Linked DNA regions of Homo sapiens: region 1 is linked to region 2. Evidence: promoter capture Hi-C in 16 types of primary human blood cells and fetal thymus (Javierre and others, 2016). All regions are on one chromosome and are shown on one strand. Each heading gives the region's core, a stretch centred on a gene start or on the middle of the fragment in contact. The rest is flanking DNA. Distances are from core to core; before and after follow the strand shown.

What was found. Contacts are between HindIII fragments. The CHiCAGO score rates a contact against its expected background, and 5 or more counts as called.
Region 1: a fragment that was not itself captured here is called in contact with the fragment with the promoter of TMEM252 in region 2 in 2 of 17 cell types (M0 macrophages and monocytes); the score reaches 6.7 in M0 macrophages.

What each region holds. Positions count from the first base shown.
Region 1 is chr9:63,820,547-63,827,999 of GRCh38, reverse strand. No RefSeq gene overlaps it. Among named protein-coding and RNA genes, the nearest start is that of MIR4477B, 4.7 kb to the right of the region's middle. RefSeq lists a silencer at 2,331-2,625 and an enhancer at 3,054-3,555. The HindIII fragment of the contact is 4,094 bases long and covers 2,364-6,457 here.
Region 2 is chr9:68,535,942-68,543,158 of GRCh38, reverse strand. It overlaps TMEM252 (transmembrane protein 252), which reads left to right and starts at 2,276. Exons shown (of 2, transcript NM_153237.2): 1 at 2,276-2,622; 2 at 5,666-6,579. The coding sequence starts at 2,345. The coding sequence ends at 5,900. It overlaps TMEM252-DT (TMEM252 divergent transcript), which reads right to left and starts at 2,134. Exons shown (of 5, transcript NR_187592.1): 1 at 1,929-2,134; 2 at 517-781. The HindIII fragment of the contact is 3,743 bases long and covers 1-2,751 here.

The DNA.
Region 1 (7,453 bases), core at 3,161-5,660, 4.7 Mb after region 2:
ACACATTAATAATGGGAGACTTTAACACCCCACTGTCAACATTAGACAGATCAACGAGACAGAAAGTCAACAAGGATACCCAGGAATTGAACTCAGCTCTGCACCAAGCGGACCTAATAGACATCTACAGAACTCTCCACTCCAAATCAACAGAATATACATTTTTTTCAGCACCACACCACACCTATTCCAAAATTGACCACATACTTGGAAGTAAAGCTCTCCTCAGCAAATGTAAAAGAACAGAAATTATAACAAACTATCTCTCAGACCACAGTGCAATCAAACTAGAACTCAGGATTAAGAATCTCACTCAAAACCGCTCAACTACATGGAAACTGAACAACCTGCTCCTGAATGACTACTAGTTACATAACGAAATGAAGGCAGAAATAAAGATGTTCTTTGAAACCAACGAGAACAAAGACACAACATACCAGAATCTCTGGGACGCATTCAAAGCAGTGTGTAGAGGGAAATTTATAGCACTAAATGCCCACAAGAGAAAGCAAGAAAGATCCAAAATTGACACCCTATCATCACAATTAAAAGAACTAGAAAAGCGAGAGCAAACACATTCAAAAGCTAGCAGAAGGCAAGAAATAACTAAAATCAGAGCAGAACTGAAGGAAATAGAGACACAAAAAACCCTTCAAAAAAATTAATGAATGCAGGAGCTGGTTTTTTGAAAGGATCAACAAAATTGATAGACCGCTAGCAAGACTAATAAAGAAAAAAGAGAAGAATCAAATAGACACAATAAAAAATGATAAAGGGGATATCACCACCGATCCCTCAGAAATACAAACTACCATCAGAGAATACTACAAACACCTCTACGCAAATAAACTAGAAAATCTAGAAGAAATGGATAAATTCCTCGACACGTACACTCTCCCAAGACTAAACCAGGAAGAAGTTGAATCTCTGAATAGACAAATAACAGGATCTGAAATTGTGGCAATAATCAATAGCTTACCAATATTAGTTATATAATAATGATAAAAGTTCCTTACTTTTCTTTCTTTCTTTTTTTTTTTTTTTTGAGACGGAGTCTTGCTCTGTTGCCCAGGCTGGAGTGCAGTGGCGCGATCTTGGTTCACTGCAAGCTCCGCCTCCCAGGTTGACAGCATTCTCCTGCCTCAGCCTCCCGAGTAGCTGGGACTACAGGCACCTGCCACCATGCCTGGCTAATTTTTTGTATTTTTAGTAGAGACGGGGTTTCACCGTGTTAGCCAGGATGGTCTTGATCTCCTGACTTTGTGATCCGCCCACCTCAGCCTCCCAAAGTGCTGGGATTACAGGCGTGAGTCACCGCGCCCAGCCCAAGTTCCTTACTTTTCATGTGTTTAATATTTTCTCCCAGTTTATAGAATATATTGATTGAGAATAAATTTTAGCCACGCATATCTATTAAAAACTTCATGATACACTTTGCTATTTTTAAATTTCTTATGCTCTTATAAAATGTGTGTTCTGGACTCATGTTGGCTTCCATTTCTTCCCTCTGGCTTCTGTTAGTTTAGGCTATGAGCAGAGATGGACAAGGTGGCTACTGTAATGGATCAAGGCTATGAGCATCTAGTGAAGTAGGATGTTAAATCTGTAAATATCAGAATGAATCCAAACTTATCAATTCAAAACTGCATTGTAAAACAGCTCAAAAAAGACTAAAAACACAGCTCTACACTTTAGGAGGCTGAGGCAGGCAGATTGCTTGAGCTCAGGAGTTGGAGACAAGTCTAGGAAACATGGAAAAACCCTGTCTGTACAAAAAAATATATTTTTTAATTAGCTGGGTATGGTGGTATGAGCCTGTGGTCGCAGCTTTTCAGGAGGCTGAGGTGAGAGGATTTCTTGAGCCTAGAAGGTAGAGGCTGCAGTGAGCTCTGATCACGCCACTGCATTCCAGCCTAGGTGACAGAGTGAGACCCGTTTCAAAAACAAACAAAGAAAAATAACTGAAAAAAACAGGTCTAAACGAAGGTGGCCAGAAAAGTAGCTCAACTTGTTCCTGTCTGGTTAAATACAAACATAAATGAACTACTTATATGCTTCAGTGGCTTCATAATGCTGAAAGCAAAGTCAATTGTTCTAGCAGGTTCTGGAAACCTTATCATATCATGGGGTTCAATGAAAATATCAAATCATAAATAAAATAATCAAATCTGAAAGTGAATCTTGTTTCAAAGACCTCAGAAGCCACTGTGTCGGAAGCTCTTTTCAAATACAGACAAGGGATTATTTGACTCCTTATCTCTGTTGTCTAGCACAATGTCCAGAACACAACAGATATTCCATATGCACAGTCACATCCTATGTATGTGTATTTCTTTTCCAGCAAGGACTAGAGGTCCTAAGCTTTATTTATATGGTGAGCGAGCCAGTTCCCAAATGAGCAGGAGAATCTTAGCACAGTCACCTACACACTCATTTCAATGCTCTGGCCCCTTATCCAAGCTAGTCAAAGTGTGGTCTATGGTTTTGCATTTTAAGGAGATCCCCGGGCGAATCTTGTGGCTGTCAAAGGCGGAGAAGCACTGCCGAAAAGGTGAACTAATTTATCGAGGTAGGCTGGCTATTTATTTATTTATCTTGTTGATGGGAAGATTCAAATTGACATACACAATCACCTCCATAAAGATTTCAGGTAAAAAACAAAGGTTTAGATATCAGATGTGTTTTACAATTACCACACCACTCTTTACTACAGCATCCAGTAGCACATTTCCAATAGACTTAGGTGAAAATTTCTAACTCATGAGCCTTCTGTCAGTACTTTTAAAATTGGATACTCAATAAATAGTGGCCAAATTGAATCTCTTACAGGCATCTCACTCAAACTGCAGTCATACTTTCCAATAGGCCCCATAAAAATCCTTGTTCTGGAGCAATCTAATATATTTATCCACCTCTTTAGACACTTAGGTAAGTATAATAATACAAGTTTGTGTGTGTGTGTGTGTATTGTGTACCTTGTGGCCTCTTGCCCAGTTTCTGCAACACCTGAAGCTGAGGCAAGTTTAATGTAAATAACGTCCAGCAATGTTAGAAATGTTGACTTTTATGTGTCCATCAGGAAAAAAGGATGAATGTTATTGTAGAGGAAATTTTCATTCTGGAAAAAATGCATACTGTTTGAATATTACTTTCATGCTTTCCACAGATATTATACACAGATATTATATTCCAAGGGTTATGTTTCAAAGTCATCAAAAATAGAAAATACCTTTTATATTTCTAGCTGAAAATAATAACAGTGATTAGCCTACCTTTGGAGAAATGTGATAAAAATACTAATGACCATCACAACTGATTAAAAGCATAAAATGTGCAATGATTTAAACTACATGTTCTTTATATGAATTATATGCATAGAAATATAGACACATTTGATAAATTCTATTTAAAGTCTGAGTGCTTTGGTAAATGATTCAGTCATCTGTAGATTGAAGGGATTACTTTTATCTGCCTTCATAGTGAGAATTAGATTTCTATTCTTTATAAAGCAGGGAATATAGATTGTGCATGGAGTAAAAGCATTCAATCATTATTAATAATGATGGTAGCGGCGCTGCAGAGGAGAAAGCCTGTCAGAGTAACGTATTCAGTTTTACATCATAATCAGAGTGTGTCGATCTCTGCTGAAGGCAGAATTAAAAAGCCCTTCAACATTTTTTAAATAATAGATGAAAAACATATCAGAGTCACTTTTAAAAATTTGAATTGACGATTCCACATAACAGGAAAAGGACCAAGAACATCTTAAAGAAATACTTCACGATGAAAGTGATGTTTTAAGTGCAATTTCATCAAGGAGAAGTTTTTCCAGAAAGTCTTTTGACCTCAGGAAGAATCTCATTAGTTTACTCTGGTAAATAGTTTCTAGTAAAATGAGAAAGAGTTGACTTTTTAAAAACAATAAAAAATTTACACGGTTTAATCTCATGTTGTGATTTCGAAAGTGCTGCTTGGGCCCTCATAGTTATGCATGTGTATTTATACGCATTTTCTTGGCTCACTCAAACGCCAATAAAATACTTTACTATCCAGGCTCCTTAAAAGCCAAATTAATTTCTAAAAGTGAGGATTGTATGTATTCTGTGAGGTGTGTGCAGGTGTATGCATGATATGTGTGTGTGGTCTGTGTGTGTAGTAGGTACACGGGGTATGTATATGTGTGTGTGGAGTGTATTGTGGGTGTTATGTGTGTATACTGTGTGTAGTATGTGGGTGGTGCATGGTGTGTATATGTGCTGTGTTTGTGGTGTATGTGTGTTTGGTGTGTATGTGTACTATATGTGATGTGTGCATGTGATATGTGTGTGGTGTATGTGATGTGTGTGTTTTGTGTGTGTATGATGCTGTGTGTGTGCAGTGTGTGTAGTGTTTGATGTGTGCTTGATGTGTTTGTAGAATGTGTGTGTGGTGTGGTGTATGTATGTGAGGTATGTGTTTGCTCTATGTGTGTGGCACTGTATGTACGTGTGCAGTGTGTGGGGAGTATGTGTGGGGTGTGTGGTGTGTGTGGGGAGTATGTATGGGGTGTGTGATGTGTGTGGTGCTGTATGTGTGTGATGTATGTGTAGTAGATTCGTGTGTGGTGTGGGGGTATGTGCACGGGTACATGTACTGTGTGGTGTGTGTGATGTCTGTGGGGGGGTGTGTGTGCACATGATGTGTACACAGTGTGTGTGGTGTCAGAGGTATGCATGTGTGCACATCGTGTGTGTACAGTGTGTGGGGTGTGTGCATGTATACATGGTGTGGGTGCAGTGTGGTGTCTGTGTGTGGTGTCTGTATGGGGTGTATGCATGTGCACATGGTGTGTGTGCAGTAGGTGTGTTTGTGGGGTGTGGGCAGTGGGTATGGGGTGTGTGTGTGCATGCGCACATGGTGTGTGTGCTGTTTGTGTGGTGTCTGTGTGTGGGGTGTGTGTGCATGTGCACATGGTGTGGTGTGTGCAGTGTGTGTGTTATGAGTGACTGCTTTTAGCATGTGGACATCAGTCTTCCAGACCAGCTTTCTCCATGTGTCTGGGAACATAAGAAACAAGTTTCTGCAATAATTGTTACACAGCTTTTCCAGAGAGGGACCAAATCTCTGTCGTGAGTGGGTATCTGCATCATTTCGCAGGAGGGAATGTGATGTCCTGGCTTGGCTCACACCCTCTGTGGGTTTAGGCACGGGTTCCTGCTGGATCCCTCACTGTGGCCAGAGAGGGAGGGCTCTGTTTCACCACAGGGCACCAGAAGAGGACTGGTGCGTGGGAAGACCAGGTAATCATAATGCTATTAATAATAGCAGTAATCATATTGTTTTATACATTGTATATGTCATAAGGATTTTAACTTTCATGTAACATAATTGCTGTAAAAGTTTCCCCAGTTTGTTTTGTGCTATTTACCTGGTGTTAAAATGTTTAAGAATTTACATATTAGGTACGTTAGGTTTATTCCTTTTTATATGGTTTCTGTTTGAAATTTTGGTTTTAGAAGACATTCATTCTCAAGGTCATAAAACACACACATCTAATTTTCTTTTTTCTCTCTCTTTTTTTTTTACATTTAATACTGGAATTAACTTTTATGTAAGGTGTAGGACCATGATTCAATTCTGTCATTTTATATTCTGAAATCATTACCCAATATTTTAATACCACAAATGGAACAATCGCTCTGTTTTGTGGGTTTAAAATGTTACCCTGTTACTAGATAAAATTACACTCAATTTCTGTGTTTTTAATTCTCTTTCATTAATGTGTTTATTTTTGTGCCATTTCAAATTTGTTTAATTTTGGATAGTGATAATAATCTTAAATATCTTATAGTAAATTTTATAATAATGGCTCTCATTGTATGTGTGTGTTCAATATATGGATTTAAAATCACATGTTCTTGTTCGAAAATATTTTTCTTGGAATTTTTATTGGAATTTGAGCATATTTTTAAATGATTTACAGCCAACTAAAGAGTTAATATTATTGAGTCCTGTCATCCAGAATGTGACATGCAAATTCCTCAGACCTCCTTTAATGCCATTTAGTCAGAATTAATATGTTAAATCAATATAAATTAGTATAAATGAGTATAACTAATGATTAAAATAAATTAATGTGTTTGGCTCCACATTTCTGTCTTCTGCCTTCTATCACTGATGTTTTATTCCTATCCTTGTTGTTTTCTATAGTTTCTTTTATTATGTCTTTTTCTGTCTTGTGATTTGAAAACTATATAACACATTGTAATGTTTTAATTTTTCTAATTTTTTGCTTTTAATTTTAACTAATTTTATTTTTTAGAGAAGTGCAGGTTCACAGCTAAACGTAGCAGAGAGTACAGACTTCTCATATGTCCCTTTCCCCACACACAGCCTCCCCACTACAGCTTCCTGCCTCACAGGAGCACACCTGTGACAACCAGGAACCTACCTTGATCCTTCATTATCACTCAAAGCTTACAGTGCACATTCACGTTTACTCTTCACGTTGTACGTTCTGAGTCTTGACAAAAGTATAATGGCAACGGGATATTATTCACTGCTAACAGGAGATGAACTATCAAGCCACAAAAAAATACATGGAGGAAACTTAAATGCATATTGCTAAAAGAAGAAGCCAATCCGAAAAGTCTACGTACTGTTCGATTCCAATTATATGACGTTCTGGAAACGGTGAAACTATGGGATCAGTAGAAAGATCAGTGGTTGCCATGGACCAAGGGGAAGGAAGAGATGGATACACAGAGCACAGAGAATCTTCACGGCAGTAAAACCATTCTGTATGATACTATAATGGTAGATATATACATTTGTAAAAATCTATCTTAACTTTTAATCTTTTAAATTACATTTTTTTTTGATGGAGTCTTGCTCTGTCGCAAGGCAGGAGTGCAGTGGCACGATCTCGGCTTACTGCAACCTCCGCCTCCCGGGTTCAAGCGAGTCTCCTGCCTCGGCCTCCCGAGTAGCTGGAACTACAGGTGCCCGCCACTGTGCCTGGCTAATTTTTGTATTTTTAGTAGAGACTGCGTTCACCATCTTGGCCAGGCTGGTCTTGAACTCCTGACCTTGTGATTCACCCGCCTTGGCCTCCCAAAGTGCTGGGATTACAGGCGTCACACACCGCACCTGGCCGTTTTGTTTTAAGAACTGCAGACAAGCTGGGTGCAGTTGCTCAAGCCTGTAATGTCTGCATTTTGGGAGGCTGAAGTGGCTGGATTGCCTGAGCCCCAGAGTTCAAGACCAGGTGGGCAACATAGTGAGATCCCGTCTCTACAAAAAAAGTATTTAAAAAAAAATAGCTAGGCATAGTGCTGCATGCCTGTAGTCCAAGCTACTCAGGAGGCTGTGGTAGAAAAATCACTTGACCCAGCAGTTTGAGGCTGCAGTGAGCTATGATCATGCCACTGCACTCTGGCCTAGGCGACAGAGCGAAACCCCATCTCAAAACAAA
Region 2 (7,217 bases), core at 1,027-3,526:
GTTCCGATTGAGAGTACTCTTCCTCCATCACCTGATTCTTAACATTATCCTGGGGCTTTACCATCTACCTGTTCCTGGGACCCAACTCCTAGTGCAGACCTTTCAGCTGGGGGTCCTGGGTCTTCCACAGATTTTTGGAATTGTAACAGCAATGATAATAACAATATTGGTGATGGTGATTATAGATAACCTTCACAGGGCACTCTCTGTGCCAGGTACTATGATAAATACTTAACATTGATTGTCTCTTCTGATTTTCAAAGTTCTAAGAGAATTTTTTTAGTTATCTACTGCTATCTAAAAAATGGCCACAAAACTTAGCATATTTTTAAAATATACTTTTTTTAAACTTTTGACCTCTTTTATTTGTTAAAATAGTGACATCCATAAACATGAAATGATTTGATCATAATGCATTCATTGATTATGGCTCTTGCCATCTTGTGGCATCCAGGACCCTGGCTGAAACGTTTTATCTCACAGTTTCTGTGGGTCAGGAATCCGAGTATGACTTACCTGGGTCCTCTACTTCAGGGTCACTGAGTCAAGGTGATGCTTGGGAGCAGAGTCATCTCAAGGCTCAGTGGGATGAGGATTTGATTGCAAGCTCACGTGGTCATTGACAGGATGCAGTTCCTCATGGGCTGACGGACTAAGGGCCTCAGTTCTTCAGTGACTGTTGGCCAGAACCTGCCCTCAATTCCTTGCCTCATGGGCCTCTCCAATATGGCAGCTTCCTTCTTCAAAGGGCGTAAGCCAAGAGGACAATAGAGAGAGTCTGCTAGAAAGATGAAAACCACAATCTTGTGTAGCCTCCACGGAAGTAACTTCCGATCACCGTTACCATATTCTATTGATTAGAATGAAGTCACTAGGTCCAGCCTACACTCAGGGGAGAGGATTACTTACACAAGGACATGAATATCAGGAGGTGGGATCCTTAGGGATCATCTTAGAAATATTCCATCTCACAGTTTGGGGAAGGAGGGAATAAGAGCTGTTTTAAGATTACAAAGACAATATCAAGACTAGAAGATCAAGGTAGTTCAAGGTCGAAATTGAAGCTAAGAAAGGTAAAGGCTAAGGGTTGGAATGGAGAAGTGCCTTATATAGTTTTTGATCCATAGTGTGTACCTCTCTAATATCCGTGTCTCCCAGCCCTAACATGAAGGTAGAGCTAAGGAGATGGTGAGTGTGAGACTAAAGGTTATATGAGGGATTATTAGGGCACGCCACAAAAAACTGCTGCTCTCATTGGGAAAGTAAATGGAAAATAATGGTAATGGAGTAGTGGAGTGGAACAGCAGCAAAGAGGAACTGAAGATAAGCTATCCTGAGTAAAAGCAACCCAGGGTTCCTATGGGAAGGAGACTTTTGGCAGAGACATGCCACATTATCAAATAAAAAAGGGCAGAGCCAGGGCATAAAGCACGTCTGAAATAAGCTATCCACAATCAAAGACAGTCAAGCTAAAGAAAACAAATTCCAGCCAGGAAACAGAAGGCTGGTTCTGGAAAGATTTTTTGAGGCAATGCTACATAGAGCAGAGGTGTGGAGGAGAGGACAGGGAACATTTTTAGCAGCATCCTCTAAAACGAATTCTATTTCATATGTACTTTATGAAAGGGGGAAAGATTGCAGGAATTACAGGCCCAAAATCCCCCCAAATTCCCGAGGCTCTGTCTATTATAGTCCTTTTCTCCAGCACTCTCCTTTCCCTCCCACTCAGGCTCTTTCGATCTTGTCAACAGAGCAGGAACCACGAAGTTCACACTCTGAACTTCTGTCTTGGAATTATGCCAGTATCATAGTGTGGGGGCAATAAGTGGGGATTCATTGAGGGAGGCAAGACAAACATGTTAACAGCCTTGAAGAAATGCCTTTTTAGTACAGAAAAAGGGAGAAGGAATCAGGAAGGGATTTCTTACCAAACCTCAAAGAAGATCGTTCTTTAAAGAGTGCTAACTTCTCCAGCTTTTAGTGGGGAATTGCCCTCCATGGGGATTAAGAGACCAGCGCCTTTTAATCAAAGGAGGGCTGTACGTTCAAATAACTGGGAACAGCTGAGTGTCCCACCCAACTCTGAAGAACAAAACAGCTACACGAAGCCACTCCTGCCTGCAGTATACAATGCTATGTTTTTTGGCTAATTCTCCAAGGATATTACACTTACTTTCAATGGTTAATGAATAGCTTCTAAGTGCCTGTTTCATTTAGTTGTCCAAAGGCCAGTGGGTCCCAGAGCATATAAAGCTGCAAGCTGGCTAATGAGCTCATTCTCTTGGAGCAAGCAGGGAAGCAGAGGAGCAGCAGGGTCAGGGTGCTGGGTTCCTAAGGTGCAAGGATGCAGAACAGAACTGGCCTCATTCTCTGTGCTCTTGCCCTCCTGATGGGTTTCCTGATGGTCTGCCTGGGGGCCTTCTTCATTTCCTGGGGCTCCATATTCGACTGTCAGGGGAGCCTGATTGCGGCCTATTTGCTTCTGCCTCTGGGGTTTGTGATCCTTCTGAGTGGAATTTTCTGGAGCAACTATCGCCAGGTGACTGAAAGCAAAGGAGTGTTGAGGCACATGCTCCGACAACACCTTGCTCATGGGGCCCTGCCCGTGGCCACAGTAGACAGGTACGTGCTGACAGGCAGAGGGACCAAGAAGGGCTGAGATGGGCTGAGTTGTGTAAGATCTGAGTAATTTCTGATCCTACTATGGAGCGACTTACATGTCCCATGGGCTGTCTGTCTAGAACCAAAGCTTTATTGTCAGGGAATTACTCTGGGGTTGTTATTAGGAAGAGTGGCGCCATCTTTGGGGAAAACCATGACGCAGGGGCAACTCATCTCAGAGAAACCCTACCACCACCCCCAGTGAAAACCCACCTAAGCCAATTTAGAAACCCAGGCTCTTTTGTTATATCATGGCAGCTGTCATTAATTAGTGGCAGGTGATGGTTAGTTACTTCCCATAACCTGGCTATGAGGTTCTAAGGAAAGCAAGTCCCAGACCAAATTCTGCCACACAACAAATGAAGAAGCAGGCATAAAATGAGTCCTGGAATCTCTGTGAGCTCAGAAAAGTCCCAGTTTACTGTCCTTTTAGGTGTTGTGATCTCACCTTGCATAAAACATTCCTTCAGGGGAAGGTGATAATATTCTAGAGGCAAGATTCATTCTTTCTCGCCATCTCATACATTAGGATAGTTATCATCAAAAAACAAAACCAAACAGCTAGTGTTGGTGAGGATGTCAATAAATTGGAACGCTGTGCATTGCTGGTGGGAATGTTAAAATGGTGCAACCACTGTGGAAAACAGTGTGGAGACTCCTCTATACATTAAATATTGAATTACTGTTTGATCTGGCAATTCTACATTCTGAGTTTATACACAAAGGAACTGAAAGCAGGGATTCAAATGGATGTTTGTACACCAATGCTTGTAGCAACATTTATTCATAATAGCCCAAATGTCCATCAACAGGTGAGTAGATAAACAAAATGTGGTATATACATGCAATGGAATATTAGCCTTAAAAAGGAAGGAAATCCTGGCACATGCCACCACTTGGATGAAGTTGAAAACATTATGCTAAGTGAAACAAGTCAGTTACAAAGGGCAAATATTGTATAATTCCACTTACATGAGTACTTAGCGTAGTCAAATTCACAGACACAGAAAGTAGAACAGTGGTCCCAGGGGCTGGTGGAAGGAGAGACTGGGGACCTATTGTTTAATGAGTAGAGAGTTTTAAGGTGATGGTTGTAGAGCAATATGAGTGTATTTAGTGCCACTGAGCTATACACTTAAAAACAGTAAATTTTATGTCATATATATTTTACCACAAGAAAAAAAAGATTCAGTTAATCTTATAGTCAGTATCAGGCAACAAGAAACCTCCTAATTCTTGGCTAGCCACAGGACCATTTAGGGATAACACCCTAGGCATCATTCTCAAGATACAGGCTACAAGACTATAATTATTTTGCCCTCTTCGTGCAAGAGTAGAAAGTATCTAAAATATTTTAGCTACTCCATGTATCTTGAATATAAGTAATCTTACCCATGAGCATCCACTTTTGGCATCCTTTATGCTAATTAATAAGATAATAATTATGAAAACCAAAACTTATTTCCAATGTTATACTAACCAGCAGAGTTTCTGGGTTTGATTAAAAATTAAGAGAAATGAAGTGATTGTAGAAGATGCCTCTAGAGTGATGATTTCTTTTTGTATAAATGTTAGAGGACTACCTCTAGAGTGTGAATTTCTGATAAATGTAACTGATTGCCTTTAGGATATAGCTTAAATTGACTAACACTGCATAATATTACAGTATACTGAAATGTTTGAAAGTAAATTATGGACATCGTAACACCCCCATTTTACTGCCTCTTCTCGCTGCATGTAATAAGATGCTTATCCCACGCAGAATGGCTGGCAAGTCAGCCTGGGAAGTCACATTTCTCCAAAGCATTTGCACTCAAAATGGATACCCAGGTTGAGATATCAAAGCAAATGGGTCTCCGATGATGGAATTCAGGGGACTGGGAATATGGATGGCAGTTGAAGGAGGGTGGGGTTGGGAGAGGTAGCTGGGATTTGGGGCAGGCAGCAGTCATCCTGGAACCTTTCACATCACTCCAGGGAACATCTCACCTTTCTGTGTAAAATGCCTTTACACATGTGCCCCGTGACTCAGCCTTGGCTATTCTGAGCGAAGGCTGAGATTTATGCCTTATAGTAGACAGCTTCTTCAGCTACTGGCTTTGGGCCTGGTAACATTTGGAATGGAGTTGTGGCTACAAATGGCAGTCCCTGTTCTGTTGTGGTTACACACCATAAACACTCCCTGTAGGCACTGGAAGGATCACTCTATAAATACACAACTCAGCCAAGCTCACCGGTCTCTCTTCCTCCCCTCTCCCCTTCCCCCAAATTCATTCATGATGGAGAAGCCAGGAGGATTTAGCAATTAGAAATGCCAGGCAAGATGACCAATGAGTACATCAGCCCCCGAATGAATGGCTGCTTTAGCCTACTGGCATAGAAAGGGCTACAACTGAAATCTGTGTAAAGTTGTCAGTTGATATCATTTGAGAAATGAATATGTTTGTATATTTTCTTTGAAACTAGCTACTGAGTCTCGAAAGGGTGTTAGGATAGAGACATGGCATCTGGTATAGTTCAGGGATCAGCACAGAGTTGGTTTTCATTCATTATTTTGTTGGCTGTGATGATCAGAGAAAGTGAGTGCAATTGAGGGGATGATGCCATGCGAGAAAGGGAGCAAGGATGTGGATGGACTAAGTACTCGGTAGAGAGAAGTTCCCTATCCAAAGCCCCCACCTCCTCTAATGTTGACAAGGATCTCACACTGAATGGCCCTGTTTTCATGAGTGAATGAGCAATAGAGAAGGAATAGCTTGGCATAACCCACTGGGAAAAAAATGTGACTAGAGGCAGGCATCCTGTGGCTGATAAAAAGGTTCTTTTGGAAGAGCAGCACATTTTTAAAAAACTGGTGATGCCAGGAAGAAGTACATCTGTTTCAAAAATCCATGTTTCTTAACAGTTTAGCTTCGCACAATTTGAGCTGAGAGAGGCAGCCGTCTGCCTCTTTGGCATTAATGCCTAAATAACGCACGCATGTTTATGCTGTTTTGTCCCCTAGGCCAGACTTTTACCCTCCAGCTTATGAAGAGAGCCTTGAGGTGGAAAAGCAGAGCTGTCCTGCAGAGAGAGAGGCCTCTGGCATTCCTCCACCTCTATATACAGAGACGGGCCTGGAATTCCAGGATGGAAATGACTCCCACCCAGAGGCCCCACCATCTTATAGAGAGTCCATAGCCGGCCTGGTGGTGACAGCAATCTCAGAGGACGCCCAGAGGCGAGGCCAAGAGTGCTGAGGCAGAGAAAGCTCTCCAGCACTCATGATGCCACCACTGTGGGGAGCAGCTACTGATAATAAAGGCAAACGAGGGACTGTGGGAGGAAAAGCCACACCAGGGACCCCACAAGAGAGCTTGGGGAGGGGATGACAGCCCTGAATTCCAGACATAACTGGCCATGCCAGGGCAGGGCAGGCCAGGGGCCCTGGAAGGGTGTGGCCAACACCAAGCAGACATTTCAGAGCATTCACACTAATCTTAACCCCGGCTGGCCTTGGGTCCCCAAAGGTGTCACTCTGAGAGCTCTGCTTACAGAGATTCTTTCTGCTGTCACTCAATTTCCCTCCCATCACCTCAACTCCAGCCAGGGAGGAATAGATGCTGGTTGTCAGGACAGCCACATGCCTTCCTGTTCTATATCACCTAGTAATCTCAAAGCGAAGGTTTGTTGTTTAATTTATTGATTGTTCAGCCTTTTGTTTTGTTAGCTTGTTTCCTAGTTACCTCCAGCTGACCATACTACCAGAGTGAGGCAGTACTTCACATCCTGGGAGATATGCCCTCGGAACCCATGAATGTTATTTTGTATTATTTTATTTTCATGATATGTATTTTTTCTATGTAAAAGGAAAATGACTGTAATATTTGCCTTCAAGATGGTTCAAACACAAAATATTAAATGAGCTGTTTCTTAAAAGAGGTCCTTAAACAAATAGACATGATAAGAATGCTTATAGACCCAAATGGAATAGACAGAATACTTAATTCATAATACATGGAATTCCGGGGTGTAGGGTGGAATTTGTACTGGCCACAGATGGTATTAATATACCACTTGATATAAATCTTATAAAGGTTAAAAATATTTGTATGTAATTCAAAGAATCCCCATATAAATCTCTAGAATTTGAAAGATAAGAAACTCTAATGATGTACGTTCATCATTAACAGGAAATTTCTTGTGTCTCAAGATACAGATCTTGACTTTTAGACTTAGGACATTCATTTTTAAATCCGATGGTTTCTCCTCAACTTTATTATATTTTATTGTTTTTTTAAATACAAGAGGACAAGTCTGGTTGCAGGGTGGTAGACAGAGATGCAGCCTGATGCTTTTGAACTTGGGCCAAGAATCTTCATCTCTCCGGGCCTCAGTTTTCTCCTCTATTAAGTGAGGCATTCATGCTGGCTTCACAGTTGTGGAATGCCTGTTATATGGCAGGCTCTGTGCCATGAGCTTTCCATGCGTGTTAGCCCTCATTCCATCTTTAAGAGACAGGCATTATGATTATTCCCATTTTACATATGCATAAAACTGACATTGTGAGAAGTTAA